Linked DNA regions of Homo sapiens: region 1 is linked to region 2. The links are contacts of gene promoters, found by promoter capture Hi-C in blood cells and fetal thymus (Javierre and others, 2016). All regions are on one chromosome and are shown on one strand. The core of a region is centred on a gene start or on the middle of the fragment in contact, and the rest is flanking DNA. Distances in the headings are between cores, read along the strand shown.

Region 1 (7,182 bases), core at 255-2,754, 250 kb after region 2:
GCTTCCTTGGTTCCACACTTCCTTAGTGCCCATTAGGGAAGAGGGTCCCAAAGGAACTGAAGACTTTTATTCACTCTTGAGGGCTTGATTGCTGCTACTTCATTCAGGGGCCAGGGGCACTGAGATTTTCTGGCCTGGGTGGCTGAGTCTGAAAAAGAGGAACATTCGGCTTTTCTAGCCCCAGAGCCACAGATGATCCACAGCACCTAAAAGCAAAGGAAACAGGGCTGGGTGGACGTAGGGCCTGGTTTTCAGCCCAGGACAGCCACATTTCCCTTCAGTCTGTGAGTGCCTTTTCTCTGGAGTGCTCCCCTCTCATCTTCTGATGAGTTCTACGCACTAGAGGAAGGTGGGAAGAACGTGGGAATTGGCTCTGTTTGACTTTGGGCTAAATCTGACTTAGTTGACTCCATGGTATTTTATTGAGCTATTACCTGATTAATGAAGCTTAACCTTAGAAATTTTAGGAAATGAATAAGATGTAAAGTGATAATGGGGAATTATAAAGCTAATTCTAGGAAAAATGATGATTATTTGCAGTCAAGTCACAGATATAATTGCTATTGGACACTAAACTCTATTAAAAGAAATGGCTGTTTTTAATATCAGTAATTATCTATTGCTTTTTCCTACCTACATATCATCTTTTCTATTCTTTTATTTCTTTATTTTTATTTAAGTTATTTTTGGGACAGGGTCTCACTCTGTCACCCAGGCTGGAGTGCAGTGGCATGATTTTGGCTCACTGCAATCTCTGCCTTTTCAGCTTAAAGGATCTCCCCACCTCAGCCTCCCAAGTAGCTGGGACTACAGACATACACCACCACACTCAGCTAGTTTTTTCTTTTTCTTTTCCTTTTTTTTTAAATTTTTGAAGAGACAAGGCGTCACTGTATTGCCTAGGCTAGTCTCAAATCCCTGGGCTCAAGTGATCCTGCCACCTTGGCCTCCCAAGCTGCTGGGATTACAGGTGTGAGCCGCCATGCCCAGGCTTCCTTTCTGTTTTACACCCATTAGACAATTCTCAGTTTTCAGTTACTCTAGCTGCTGATTGAGAAAGCTGCCTCCCGGATCAGTCACATGAATGGGTAATCTCAGAACTGCTACAAGTCAACTTAGAGAAATGCTGTGGAATAAGGCACACATTAAATAATTTGATGAATAAATTTTTTAACAAAGATGGGTAGGAGCCAAAATTATATGGGTACTTTGCAGACATCAATGCATTAATGTACACAGGAACCATAATATATTATTTTACTATTTATATATATTCAGAAAAGATTTAAAGAGTTTTTTTCAAGGTCATCTGATGTCAGAGTGGGCAGCGTGTTTAGTATGTAAACTCAGATACTTCCAGTTGTAAAGTTTATTCTACACCTTCTCTTCTATATCAACTCTAGTGTTGTCTCTTCATTTTACTTATGAGGAAACAGATGAAAAATAGATTAATAACTTACCCAAATGTCACTCAATAATTAATGACAGGATTGAACTGAGTCTTATTTAGAAGTTCTCCACTCTATATACTTATTATCAGTTTGCGATAGGCTCTATAAAGAGTTTTTTGCAGGAAAAACTCATCTCAGTGAGGCCATTGTTTGATGTTCCAGGACTAATTTGACATGAAGATAAAGAATCACACTCCAGTAACTGAGGTCCCCCTGATGGGAATCCCTCATACAAAGGGGATGGAAAATGTGCTTTTTGTCTTATTTCTGGCCTTCTACCTCTTCACCTTGCTGGGGAACCTACTCATTCTTCTGGCCGTCCTCACTTTCTCCAACCTCCACACCCCCATGTATTTCTTCCTGGGAAACCTGTCTGTGTTTGACATATTTTTCCCTTCAGTGAGTTCCCCCAAAATGATGCTCTGCTTAGTGGGACAAAGCTGCACCATCTCTTTCCAGGGTTGTGCCTCCCAGCTCTTCTTTCACCATTTCCTGGGTTGCACCGAGTGTTTCCTGTACACTGTGATGGCCTATGACCGATTTGCAGCCATCTGCCACCCTTTGCCATACACGGTCATCATGAAACGCAGGGTGTGTGCCCTCCTGACGCTAGGCACCTGGACGGGGAGCTGTCTGCATGCATCTGTCCTCACACTCCTCATCTTTAAGTTATCCTACTGTGGCCCCAATGAAGTGGACAATTTTTTTCTGTGATATTCCGGTGGTGCTGCCCCTGGCCTGCGCAGACACCTCTCTAGCACGGACAGTGAGTTTCATCAACGTAGGTGTTGTTGCGCTCATGTGTTTTCTTCTTATCCTCACCTCTTATGCTTGCATTGTTATCTCTATACTGAAAATCAGTTCCTCAGAAGGTAGGCGCAGAGCCTTCTCAACCTGCAGTGCCCATCTGACGTCCATCCTGCTCTTCTATGGACCAATAGTCCTCATTTATCTCCGACCTGCCTCCAGCCCTTGGCTGGACTCTGTGGTTCAGGTGTTGAATAATATTGTTATCCCTTCCCTGAATCCTTTGATATATACTTTGAGAAACAAAGGTGTAAAGCTGGCACTGAGAAAGGTGCTCATTCAAGGAGTACATAATTGTGGAAGGTAAGCTTTATATCCTGGTCTGTCTTTACAGCTTTGTCTTGAATTTATCTGGGGGCAATTAGCTCCTATATTTTGTTTGATGACTGAGTACCAGGCGCTATTTACAAATACTGATACATGTAATGATTATAATAATCATATGAAGTAGATAATACTATTATCTCGATTTACGAGGGAAAATTAAGGCACTGAGAGGCTGAGATCTTTCTGCAGTGTCATGGAGTTAAAAACTTGCTGGGCGAAAATGTGACCCAAAGCGTCTTAACCATGTGCTAATGCTGCTTCTGTAGTGTCTAAATGGTAACATAAATACTTCTCTCAGGAGCTTCTTTTCGGTTTACACAGAATATTCTTCAATTTGCCAGCAAATCTAGTACATTAAATTTGCTCCATTGATTTCTATAACTTTTTTTGAGTCTATATTTTGATGGATGACATATGTCTGAGTCTGATACCAAGAAATTATCTGGCTGGGTATGGTGGCCTACGCCTGTAATCCCAGCACTTTGGGAGGCTGAGGCAGGCAGATCACTTGAGCTCAGGAGTTCAAGACCAGCCTGGTCAACATGGTGAAACCCCGTCTCTACTAATAATACAAAATTAGCCAGGCGTGGTGGTGGGCACCTGTAGTCCCAGCTACTCAGGAGGCTGAGGCAGGAGAATCGCCTGAACCTGGGAGGTGGAGGCTGCAGTGAGCCAAGATCACAGCACTGCACTCCAGCCTGGGCGATGGAACGAGAGACACTGTCTTAAAAATAAAAAAAAAAGAAAGAAAATAAAATCTCTTTAGAAGTCAATTAGTACCCATATATCCAAAAAGATGTATTAGTATAGGCTGTCTCTCAGGTAAACATATTATTTCTTTATAACAACAATTTCAATTCTGTAAGAGGATTACAAGTTTGCTTTCATTCAGTCAGGGACTAAATTTGAATTCCAGAACTTATGGGCCTTCAAAAATAATAGTCATTGTTTTCTCATGTAAATAGCTTCAAAGAAAACTAGGACACTGCAAAAAAGTAAAATGAGTAGAAATTACTCACTGATCCTACCACCAAGAGATAACCACTGTTAATATTTTGTCATTTTTCCTACCTCTCTCATTAGTGATTAAATTGGAATTAGGGTTTCTGACTTCTTGTTTAAATTTTTTTCATTTCTATCTATGTCATCTATATCTATATCTATATTTATATTATGTATCTATATATGTATATATTTTAGAGAGATTTATAGTTGTGATTAGCTCATATATATATTTTCTTGTTTTAATCATGTATCAAGAATTTTCAATTGCCATAATTTTTTAAATAGCTTTTTTGAGATATAATCACACACCAAATAATTTGTGAATTTGAAGTGTACAATTCAATGGTTTTTCATATATTTACATATGTACCACCTTTACCACAGTCAATCTTAGAACATTTTAATCACCACAGAAAATGTCCTATACCCTTTAACCATTACCTCCCTGTTCCCACATCACCCTTAGTAAGCAAACACTAATCAACTTTTTATATCTATAGACTTGCTTATTCTGGACATTACATAAAAGTTGAATCATATAATATGAACCTTCAAAGCCAGTCTTTTGTGACTGGCTTATTTAAATGAGTATAATATTTTCATGATTAATCTATGTTCTAGCATTTTTTTTATGTCAAATAATATTTCACTGCATGGGTACACCACAATTTGTTTTTCCATTCATCAGTTGATTAACATTTGAGTTATTTCTACCTTTGGGTATTTTGAATAGTACTGCTATTAACACTTGTGTGTATGTTTTGTTTGAACACCTGTTTTTAGTTCTTTTGGATATATACCTACTAATGAAATTGCTGGATCATAGAGTGATTCTTTTTTTTTTTTTTTTTTTTGAGGCGGGGTCTCACTCTGTCACCCAGGCTGGAGGGCAGTGGCGCAATCTCGGCTCACTGCAACCTCCACCTCCCGGGTTCACGCCATTCTGCTGCCTCAGCCTGCCAAGTAGCTGGGACCACAGGCGCCCGCCACCACGCCCCGCTAATTTTTTTTTTTTTTTGTATTTTTAGTAGAGATGGGGTTTCACCATGTTAGCCAGGATGGTCTCAGTCTCCTGACCTCCGGATCATAGAGTAATTCTATGTTTGCTCTTTTGAGGAATCTCCAAACTATTTTCCACAGAGGCTGCACCATTTTACATTCTAGCAAAGTAGAAGTGTTCTGTTTTTACTACATCTTGGCCAACACTTTTTAAAAATTTTATGTAGCCATTCTAGTGGCTATGATACAGTGTATCATTGTGGTTTTGATCTGAATTTTTTCGATGATGAATGAAATTGAGCATCATTTCACATGTTTGTTGGCCATCTGTATGTCCTCTTCAGAAAATAAAATGTCTATTCAAGTAATTTGTCAATTTTCTAATTGGTTTGTTTGCCTTTTTGTTGTTGAATTGTAATGATTCTTTATATATTCTCAGATGCCAGATCCTTTTCAGACATATAATTTGCAAGTCTTTTCTCTCATGCTGTGAATGGTCTTTTTACCTTCTTGATAGTACCCTTTATGCATAAAAGCTTTAAATTTCAGTGGTGTCCAGTTTATCTTTCTTTTGTTATTTGTGCTTTTGGTGTCATATCTAAGAAATCATTGCCAAGTCTAAGGTCATGATGCCCATGTTTTCTTTTAAGAGTTTTATAGTTTAGTTCTTACATTTAGTTTTATGATTCTTTTTGAGTAGTTTTTATAAATGGTATGAGTTAAGGGTTCAAATTCATTCTCTTACCTGCGAATATCTAGTTGTACCAGGACCATTTGCTGAAAGACTTCTTTCCTATTGAATGGTCTTGGCTCCGTTGTTGAAAATCAATTTACCATAGATACATGTCTTGATTTTGTTCTATACTCTCAGTTCTTTTCCATTGACATATATTTCTATACTTATGCTGCTGTCACAGTCTTGATTACCATGGTTTTTAGTAAGTTTTGAAATTGGAAAGTGTAATTACTCCTACTTTCTACTTCTTTCAGGATTGTTTTGACAGATTTTTGGAATTCCATATGAACTTTAGAATCAGCTTATCAACTACAGAAAAGATAACTGGATTCTGATACGGATTGCATTGAATCTGTAAATTCGTGTTGTTTCAACAATATTTATTCTTCTAACCCATGAGCATGGGATCTTTTTCCATTCATCCAGATCTTCTTTAATTCTTTTTAGTTTAATAGTTTCCAAGGTGCAAGGATTTTACTTCCTTGTTTAAATGTATTCCTAGGTATTTATTCCTTTGGTGCTACTGTAAATGGAATTGTGTTCTTAATTTCCATTTAAGATTTTTAATAGCCAATATATAGAAATTCAATCAACTGATTTTTGCATATAGATCTTGTATCCTGTTTTGCTGAAGTCCTTTATTCTAGTATTTTTTTGTGGATTCCTTAGGATTATCTGTATGCACAGTTATGTCATCTGCAAGTAGAGATAATTTTATGTTTTCCTTTTCTTTTCTCTAGGGATATCCTTAGGGTTTTAAAATTCTCTTTCTTGCCTAATTGCTTTGGCTTAAAATTCCAGTACAATGTTTAATAGAAGTGCTAAAAGCAAGTATCTTTGTCTTGTTCTTCACTTAGAGGCAAATAATCTAGTCTTTCACCATTATATATGATGTTTGCTGTGTGAATTTTTCATAGATGCCATTGATCATGTTGAAGAAGTTTCCTTCTACTCCTAGTTTGTTGAATGTTTTTTCATCATGAAAGTGTATTGATTTTGTCAAATGATTTTTCTGTCTGTTGAAATTATCATGTGGTTTGGTGGGGGGTTTTGATGTTGTTGTTTGATATAGTGTATTACATTAGTTGATTTTTGAATGTCAATCCAAACTTGCGTACCTAGGATAAATCTTCACTTTGTCATGGTATATAATTCTTTTTATATATTGATGGATTTAGTGTGGGAAGATTTTGTTGGAGGTTGTTGTATTCATATTCATAAGAGATATTGACTTCTCTTTTTTTCCTTTGATTTGATATTTTTGGTATCAGGGTTATCCTGCTTTTGAAAAATGTGTTGAGAAAAGTTTTTCCCTCTTCTGTTTTTTTTGGAAGAGTTTGTGAAGAATTGGTGTAAATTCTTTCTAAAATAGTTTGTAGAATTTAGTAGTGAAGCCATGTGGTCCCGAGTTTTTATTTGTGGGTATATTTTTGATTATTGATTTAATATCTTTACTTTTTATAGCTCTATTCAGATTGTCTCTTTTTTCATGAGTCAGTTTGGGTAGGTTGTGTCTTTTTAAGAACTTTTCCATTTTATCTAAGTTATCTAGTCTATTGATACAGTTACTGTTACTATTCCTTTAGCGTCTTTTTTATTTCTGTAAGGTTGGTAGTAATGTCTCCTTTTCCATTTCTGATTCTAATAACTTGATTCTTCTTTTTAAATTGGTCAACCTAGCTAAAGTCTTGTAAGTTTTGTTGATCCTTTTAAATAATCAACTTTTAGTTTTATTGATTTTCTCTATGTTTAAAAATTCTCTTTTATTAATTTCTGCTCTAACCTTTATTAGTTTCTTCATTTAGCTTGCTGTTAATATAGTTTGCTCCTTTTTTCATTTCTTTGAGCTGGAAAATT
Region 2 (7,695 bases), core at 3,564-6,063:
GAATCCAAACTTATTTTATGTGAGAATTTTGGCTGGAAAAGTTGAGCACCTGTGAGAAGCACCAGGGTGGGGAGGATCATCTGGTATCTGTTTCAGATATTGATTATCTAACCAAGGCAAGGATTTATTTCTAAAATTATAAATAAAAGAAGTGTGTGAAGAAAATGAAGGACCCACTGAAAAATAGTGCCTAAGCCACCTTATATCTGTGCCTCAGTAAATAAGTAGGCATAATGGGGATTCTCCTAATTTCTTCTTTGAATACAGCTTAGTGTCTCTGCCTATAGCAGGAATAACAGCAGATATAGTGGCATACCTACCATCTCAGTGGTTTGGTGTTTTGAGGTAATTGAAAGACAGCTCCTTCGTCACTGACATCAGTTTCTTAAAGGGGGAATAGACTGCAGTAATAGTGAGGAAGCTCTGCCCTCAGGTGGCTTCAAAGAGTGTAAATCAATGAAGGGTAGCCAGAGCCAGATAATATTGAGAGTTCATAAGTACATAAGAAACATCTCTTGGGGATTCCAAGAAACACTTGGTAGAAATTACTTGCTAGTAATTGCACAGGAGAGCAAGAGCTTATGGTATGCACCTAGGTGAGGTGAACAAGGGCCAGTGACATTTGAAATTTTATTTTGGCCTTTGCACAGATTGGTGTGGCCAAGAAGAAATTCGGTCACATCTCCTACCTGTTATCCTGTGCGCAAAGGAAAGAAGAATGAATGAAAACTATCTTTTATAGCCATTTAAAAAATAGATCATGTGCATTGTATTGAGCCAAATAACATTTCCTACAAAGCTCTTCATCTAATAACTTAAAGATATGGGATCATCATGGCCAACTCTGTAAGAATAATGGATGCTAGCAAAAAATAAAATAATACAAGAAAGACATCTAAAGTTATAAAAGTGTGCAGGACAAATAATTATGATGATATCTACTATATGAGAATATTTATATAAGAAACGCTTTAAATTATTTTAAATATTAATAATTTTTATAATTTAATTGTTAAATCACTTTACAGTCTAAATTCTTGGGCACATAGCTATTTAAATATTCTTTTCCTGTGAATTCCCATCATTTCCAGATTGGCTTCTTTTGATGATTTTCTTTCTGGTTATGTATCACAATATCCTGCTTCTTTATATACTTAGAAATTTTTGTTTGGATGCTGGATATTGTGATATTAAATTATTAAATTATATATTTTGTTGTATTCTTTTAAGTTGTGTTAGACTTGGTTCTCCTAGGCAATTACTTGTGGACTAGTTTGATCTTTTCAGTCTTGTTTTGAAAGCCTTTTAGGAAAAAGCTAGGTCTGTCTTTGCACTAGAGATAATTTATCCCCCTTACTCTACCTAATACCCTAATATTAAAAGGTCTTTTTACTCTGGCTGAAAGAAACACAAACTATTTCTATCCCTATGTGAACACCAGAAATTATTTGGCCTGTTGATTTCTCGTGGATCCTTTCAGATCTTCAGGTAATTTCTTTTCATGACTGCTTAGCTCTATATTCAGCCAAAGTCTTCAGGGGATCCTTCTGCCTATCTCCAGAGTTCTATTTCTATGCAACTCTTTCATTTCTGGTCGTCTTGCCTGTAACTTCAAGTTGCCCTGGCCTCCCCAAACTGATCTCTATTTTCTTACTCATAGAAACTTCCAGCCTCTGTTTGAATACTCCCCATAGACTGCAGGGGAGGAGACCGCACCCAGGTTGCAAACTGGAGCACTTTTAAGGCTCACCTTGTTTTGTTTTTCTTCTCTCAATAATTGCAATCTTGTATTGCTTGTTAGACAATGTGTGAAATGGTTTGCTTTATGTATTTTTGTCATTTTCTAGTTGCCTAAGTCAAAAGATAAAATCAAATATCTGTTACTCCACCATGGCCAATATCAGAAGTATTAATTCATTTATTTTTACAATTTATCATTCATAAAATTTTCTAGTATATTCTTTTCTGTCAAGCTAAAATGTGAATAACTTAGGAGTGGAGATCATGTCCTGTTTCTCTTTGTATCATCAGCATCTCCCATTGAATTTTACACAGGGCCCTAAAAAAGATAAATAATATTCATTCAGCATTTCTGTATCATACAATTGGTATAAGTGCTTTTAGGTTAATCCTACTTTAGCCCCGCACCGTTGAAATTCTCATTTTGTAGATAAGTAAGAAACTGAGATACAGAAAGTTTCGATAACTTGCCCAGGATCATAATTCAGGTGTGCTCAGCACATCTTCTATGAATAAATGCCTGACTGCCTAATGAGTTCTGGGGAAAAATGACCATAATATATACAATGGTAATTAAACCATACAGTTAAACTAAAACTTTTTTATTTATTTATTTATTTTTAGAGCCAGAAAGAGCCAGAGAGATTTAAATCACAAAAGATTTAGGTGACCGAGAAAAGGACCAACAAATCTGGCCTTTAATACAACTGTTGGGAACTCATTGTCTAGCAAGTCTTTATTTTATTGCCAAATGCCCATAAAAAGATACCAAGGGAGCTATTTCTAGTGCTTCAGCAAAATAGAACAACTTATAACTGGATGACCCTCAAAAACCTCCAGTTCAATAGGTCCACCCCTAAGAAACCCCTCCTATTTTCCTTTCTTTTTTTTTTCTTCTTCTGTTTTTTTTTTTTTTTAGACGAAGTCTCACTCTGTCACCCAGGCTGGAGTGCAGTGGCTTGATCTTGGCTCACAGCAACCTCTGCCTCCCAGGTTCAAGCAATTCTCATGCCTCAGCCTGTTGAGCAGCTGAGACTACAGGCATGCACCACCACACACAGCTAATTTTTGTATTTTTAGTAGAGACGGGGTTTCACCATGTTGGCCAGACTAGTCTTGAACTCCTGACCTCAAGTGATCTGCCTGCGTCAGCCTCCCAAAGTGCTGGTATTACAGGTGTGAGCCACCGCGCCTGGCCCTGTGTTCCTTTTCTCATCAAATATCTTTCTTTTTCACTCTGTATAGCTAGAGGCTTGGTACCTTCCTGAGTCATACCTCTTTTTCTCTCACTTCTCACATCATCTTTACTTGATCTGGCCAATAGAGGTTAAAACCAAGTCTCTAGAAATATTCAAGAGTGCCTAATAAGAAAATATTTTTTAACTTTACATGCCTTACTAAAAGTAGTGATATTTTATTATCTATTATTTTATTTAAAAATGGAGAGAGACATTGAGGACCGGATAAGTTGTAGCATGGTCAAAATCTGTGGAAAATAAGTGAACTTAGCCAGGACTAGAATTGGAGATCTCTGAATCCCTGTTAGGTTTCTTTCATGGTATTTAAAAACAAAAACAAAAACAAAACAAAACAACAGAAAAGCGAGGTCTCACTCTGCCACCCAGGATGGAGTGTAGTGGTGCAATCACAGCTCATTGCAGCCTCAACTTCCAGGGCTCAATGAATCCTCCAATCTTGGCCTTCCAAAATGTTGGGATTACAGGTGTGAGCCACTGCACCCAGCCTCCCTTCGTGGTATATGCAAGATACTTCATGGATTGAATTTTCTCCCAGACATGATCAGAGTTTTCCTTCAGTTTGGCATGATCATTGCTCATCCTGGGGCACCATCTCAGTTTCTGGCACACCAAACACCACCATAGTCGTGCAGAAAGAATGTGTTGAAGATAAGAAATGTGTGCCATTGGGGGAGGGCTGGGGGTTGGGGAGAGCATTAGGAAAAAGAACTAATGCATGCTGGGCTTAGTACATGGGTGATGGATTGATAGGTGCAGCAAACCACCATGGCACACGTTTAACTATGTAACAAACCTGCACATCCTGCACATGTACCCTGGAACTTAAAAAAAATAATAAAAAAAGAAATGTATTTAATGTAGTGTATACCAGTGTCAAGTTTTCCTTTGTATCAAGGTCATGATTCTGTTCACTGTCTCTCTCAACACTTCCTGTACCTTCTCATTCCTCAAGCTGTAGATAAAAGGGTTCAGGAGAGGGGTCACCACTGTGATGAGGACAGCGGCCACCTTGTCATAATCCAGTGAGGAGTTCTGATTGGGTCTCACATACACAAAGATGTTGCTCCCGTGGGCAATGGAGACAACAGTGATGTGAGAAGCACAGGTAGAAAAAGCTTTCTGACGGCCCTGGGTGGAGGGGATACGCAGGATGGTAGAAATTATGTACACGTAGGACCCAGTAGTGAATGCCAGGGAGCTCAGGATGACAAGGGCAGAGAGGAGAAAGTTTATCTTCTCAATGAGGTGAGTATTTATACAGGCCACCTGAAGAAGAGGGGCAATGTCACAGAAGAAATGATTAATTTCTTTCCTACAGTAAGGTAGCCTTGTCACTACAATGGTTGGAAACAACACAGACAGGAAGGCTCCCACCCAGCATCCCAGAACCAGCAGAAGGCAGGCCCTGCTGTTCATGATGACCGTGTAGTGCAGTGGGTCGCAGATAGCCATGTAGCGGTCAAAGGACATCACCGCCAAGAGGATAAACTCCACCGTCCCCAGAAAGAAGTAGAAATATGTTTGGATCATGCAACCAGCAAAAGATATGGTTTTCTCTTCTCCTAGGAGGCAGGCCAACAACTTTGGGGTAATGACAGTGGTGTATAAGATATCCAGAAAGGACAAATTACTGAGGAAGAAGTACATTGGAGTTTGCAGGCGATGATCAATCCATATCAGGGAGATGATGGTGATGTTTCCTGTTGCTGTTAATGTGTAAGTTACCACAAGAACCACGAAGAGAGATATTCGAATCTCCAGGAGAGCTGGGAAGGCAATTAGGGTGATTTCAGTCACAGTGCTCCAGTTTCCCATGACAACTACTATATGGTGGGCAGGGTTTCCCTGAAGAAACAAGAAAAGGAAAATCAGCTTAGGTAATTTTGTAAATATCTGCTGAGAATGTATTGCGGAGAGTGGCTTATATTGGGAGATGTAGACCTGGTATGTAGTCCTCTATCTGCAAGTTAATTATTGTGCCACACTGGGAAAGTCAAGATACTATTTAGGTACATGGTTTTTTTTTGTTTGTTTGTTTGTTTTTCCTGTAAAATGACGGAATAAGGCTGGATAAAAAAAACTCAACTTCCTTCTAGTTATAAAATTCTATTCCTTTTCATTGATGAAATTTCTAATCTTTTCTATTCTTTTGGCTTCATTTTCTCAGCTAAAAATGTGCTAATGTACTGATGTATACTTAATCAGAATGCCCTTCTATTATTCTGGTTTACAGTTCCTGAGTGGCAAATCCTTTAGAAACGTAAAGTCTTTTCTATAACAAACTTTCTTTCACTTTGGTGGTTGTCATTTAATAAAGGTTGATTTAGTTTTTTCTACATTTGTAGATATCCAGAGTCTCCGAATTCTTAACATCTTTCCCTAGCATGTATAGATCTGTGAAAACTGTCCAGAGATTATTAAAAGGAACAACAGCTGACGGTTCCTATTAATCATTTTAGATGACACCTCAAAAAGAAATAATGAGTGTCTCGCCCTTAGATTATGCTTTTGTGTCTAAAACCTACCTTCTACAAGTTCTGTGCAGTATCTAATATGTATCATATATCTGGCTGATCATTTGAGAGCACCGTATATAGTGTGATAACATCAGAGAGGCACAAATTATATACAGGAAGGCAACATAGAGGTAATTCACCTCACTTCATTTACTTTGTCAGCCGACATTGTGAAACTGTACTTCAAGATCATCTAGTTTGTTCTTTGTCCCACAATGTGAGAAATGATTATTTTGCAGAGACCTCCCCATTTTAGGTAAAAACCAGCCCATGCTTTAACTCTGACCTTGGTGCTTTATTTATCTAGATATCACTTAGCACCTCCTTAATAAATCCTTAATAGATAAGTTAGCATCTCCTCCACTCTTTGCTACTGATCGTGGCCACCTCTTTTTCTTTTTCCAAACTCCCCCTGCACTTTCCTCCAAGATAAAAAATTTACCCTCTTATTTTATTTTTCTTTTTATTATACAAGAAAGACATTTTTAGTGCAAAGAATTAAAAAATGCAAGTGCAGAAAAGAAAATTATAATCTGTAATCGAACTTCTTAGAGATACAGTGACCTTTTGGTGTATATAGTTTTAGGCTATTTTAAAGTTCAAAGTACATACTTGTGTATCTAAAATAAATCATACTAGGAGACTATTTTGTAATTAGCTTTTTTCCTTTTCCTTTCTTTCTCTTTTCTTTCTTTCTTCCTTTTTCTTAAAACAATTTAGCATCTTTCCATGTCAACTCCTAGAAGTCTTCACAATCATTTTTGAGAATTGTATAGTGTTTGATTCTATCAGTGGGACTGTGATATATTTAGCCAGTTGCTTAATGCTGAAAATTTAGATGGTTTACATTTCTTGCTTGTATAAATAATGATCAAATAAATATTCTTCCACATAAATTTTTTGTGCACTTGTCTTATTAATTCCCGAGAATCTTTTCCAATAGGGTGTTTGCCCTCACTATTTGTTACTCAGTACAAAAACCCAAGAAAGATTTATTCTTATAATATTAGATTTTACTTTACTAGAGCAGTTGATAATGTAAAATCACTTACAGATCTCTTTCATGGGTTCTTAGTCTGAGGGAATAGTTCTATATCATAGCTGGGCTGGGGTAGCTGATGCCTCAATGGCATAGAAATACTGTGCTCTTTTTTTTTTTAAATAAATCTTATTTTATGCTCTGAACTTCAGTTTTCTCATCTTAGAATGCTGGGCTGCACATTTAAAAGGTCCATTAAAGTCTTAGGGTCCTACTATCAGTACTTTTTGACTCCCTGACCCACCCCAAAGATTGTAACTTCTTTTATTCTCCAGTAAATAAACTCCTAAATTATTTGCTAAGTTACTGCATAAAAGTGGCTAATCATGAATACATATACTAATATAATAGCATGGGAAATTACATATGAACTTTCTATACAAGGCATTTTGTTACCTGTTTTTTGTGTGTCTTGTATTATTATTTCCATGGGGTTTTTCAGCAGGCAAATTATATTTTACAATTTTTTTCGGTTTTCAATAAAAATAGATCTTTATTGAGTTTTTAGTAGTTGCCAGACATGATCGAAAGCAGTTTACTCTTTTAATTTTCATTATAACCTATGAGATAAGCACTACCTTTATTCTTATTTTTTTATTTTACTTTAAGTATATTTTACATTTTAAGACTCAAGTATTAATTAGATTAATGTGAGATAGTTTGAAGAATTGGGTTCCAATCCTGGTTTTTACCACTTGCAGCTCTTTTTTATTGAATTAAATTCGTCACCTCTGAGTCATAGCTTCTTTATCAGAGAAATAAAGATAATTCTAATGTTCAAAATGACCTGCCATGAGGTTTAAATTAAATCATATATGTGACAATACCTAATAGATTCTTGCTAAAAAATTGATTCTTTTAAGAAAGGAGATGAACAATTAACACTAATTGTTTCTTATCTGAATTAATAACAATAAGTCATGAAAAGATTAATTTTTAACTGAGGAATATTTCTAATGCATACTTAACCTGAATCATTCCAGATTGGCTTCTGACTCCATTCATTAAGAATATTGAAAGATTAGAGCGACTATACACAGAAAAGTAAATTTAACAAAAGTTATATCATATTAGTAAATAAACATATGCAAAAAAGTATACTTACATTGCATCAATTATATAATGTAAACTTTTCCTGTTT

What was found. The method cuts DNA at HindIII sites, captures the fragments that hold promoters and counts their contacts. A CHiCAGO score of 5 or more calls a contact.
Region 1: a contact is called between a fragment that was not itself captured here and the fragment with the promoter of OR6M1 in region 2, in 1 of 17 cell types (endothelial precursors). The highest score is 5.2, in endothelial precursors.

The regions. Positions count from the first base shown.
Region 1 is chr11:124,053,168-124,060,349 of GRCh38, forward strand. It overlaps the pseudogene OR10D5P. Among named protein-coding and RNA genes, the nearest start is that of OR10G7, 15 kb to the left of the region's middle. The HindIII fragment of the contact is 2,119 bases long and covers 446-2,564 here.
Region 2 is chr11:123,801,536-123,809,230 of GRCh38, forward strand. OR6M1 (olfactory receptor family 6 subfamily M member 1) reads right to left here and starts at 4,814. Exons shown (of 1, transcript NM_001005325.1): 1 at 3,873-4,814. The coding sequence starts at 4,814. The coding sequence ends at 3,873. All of the region lies in intron 2 of LOC105369544 (a long non-coding RNA gene), which reads left to right. The HindIII fragment of the contact is 4,667 bases long and covers 4,113-7,695 here.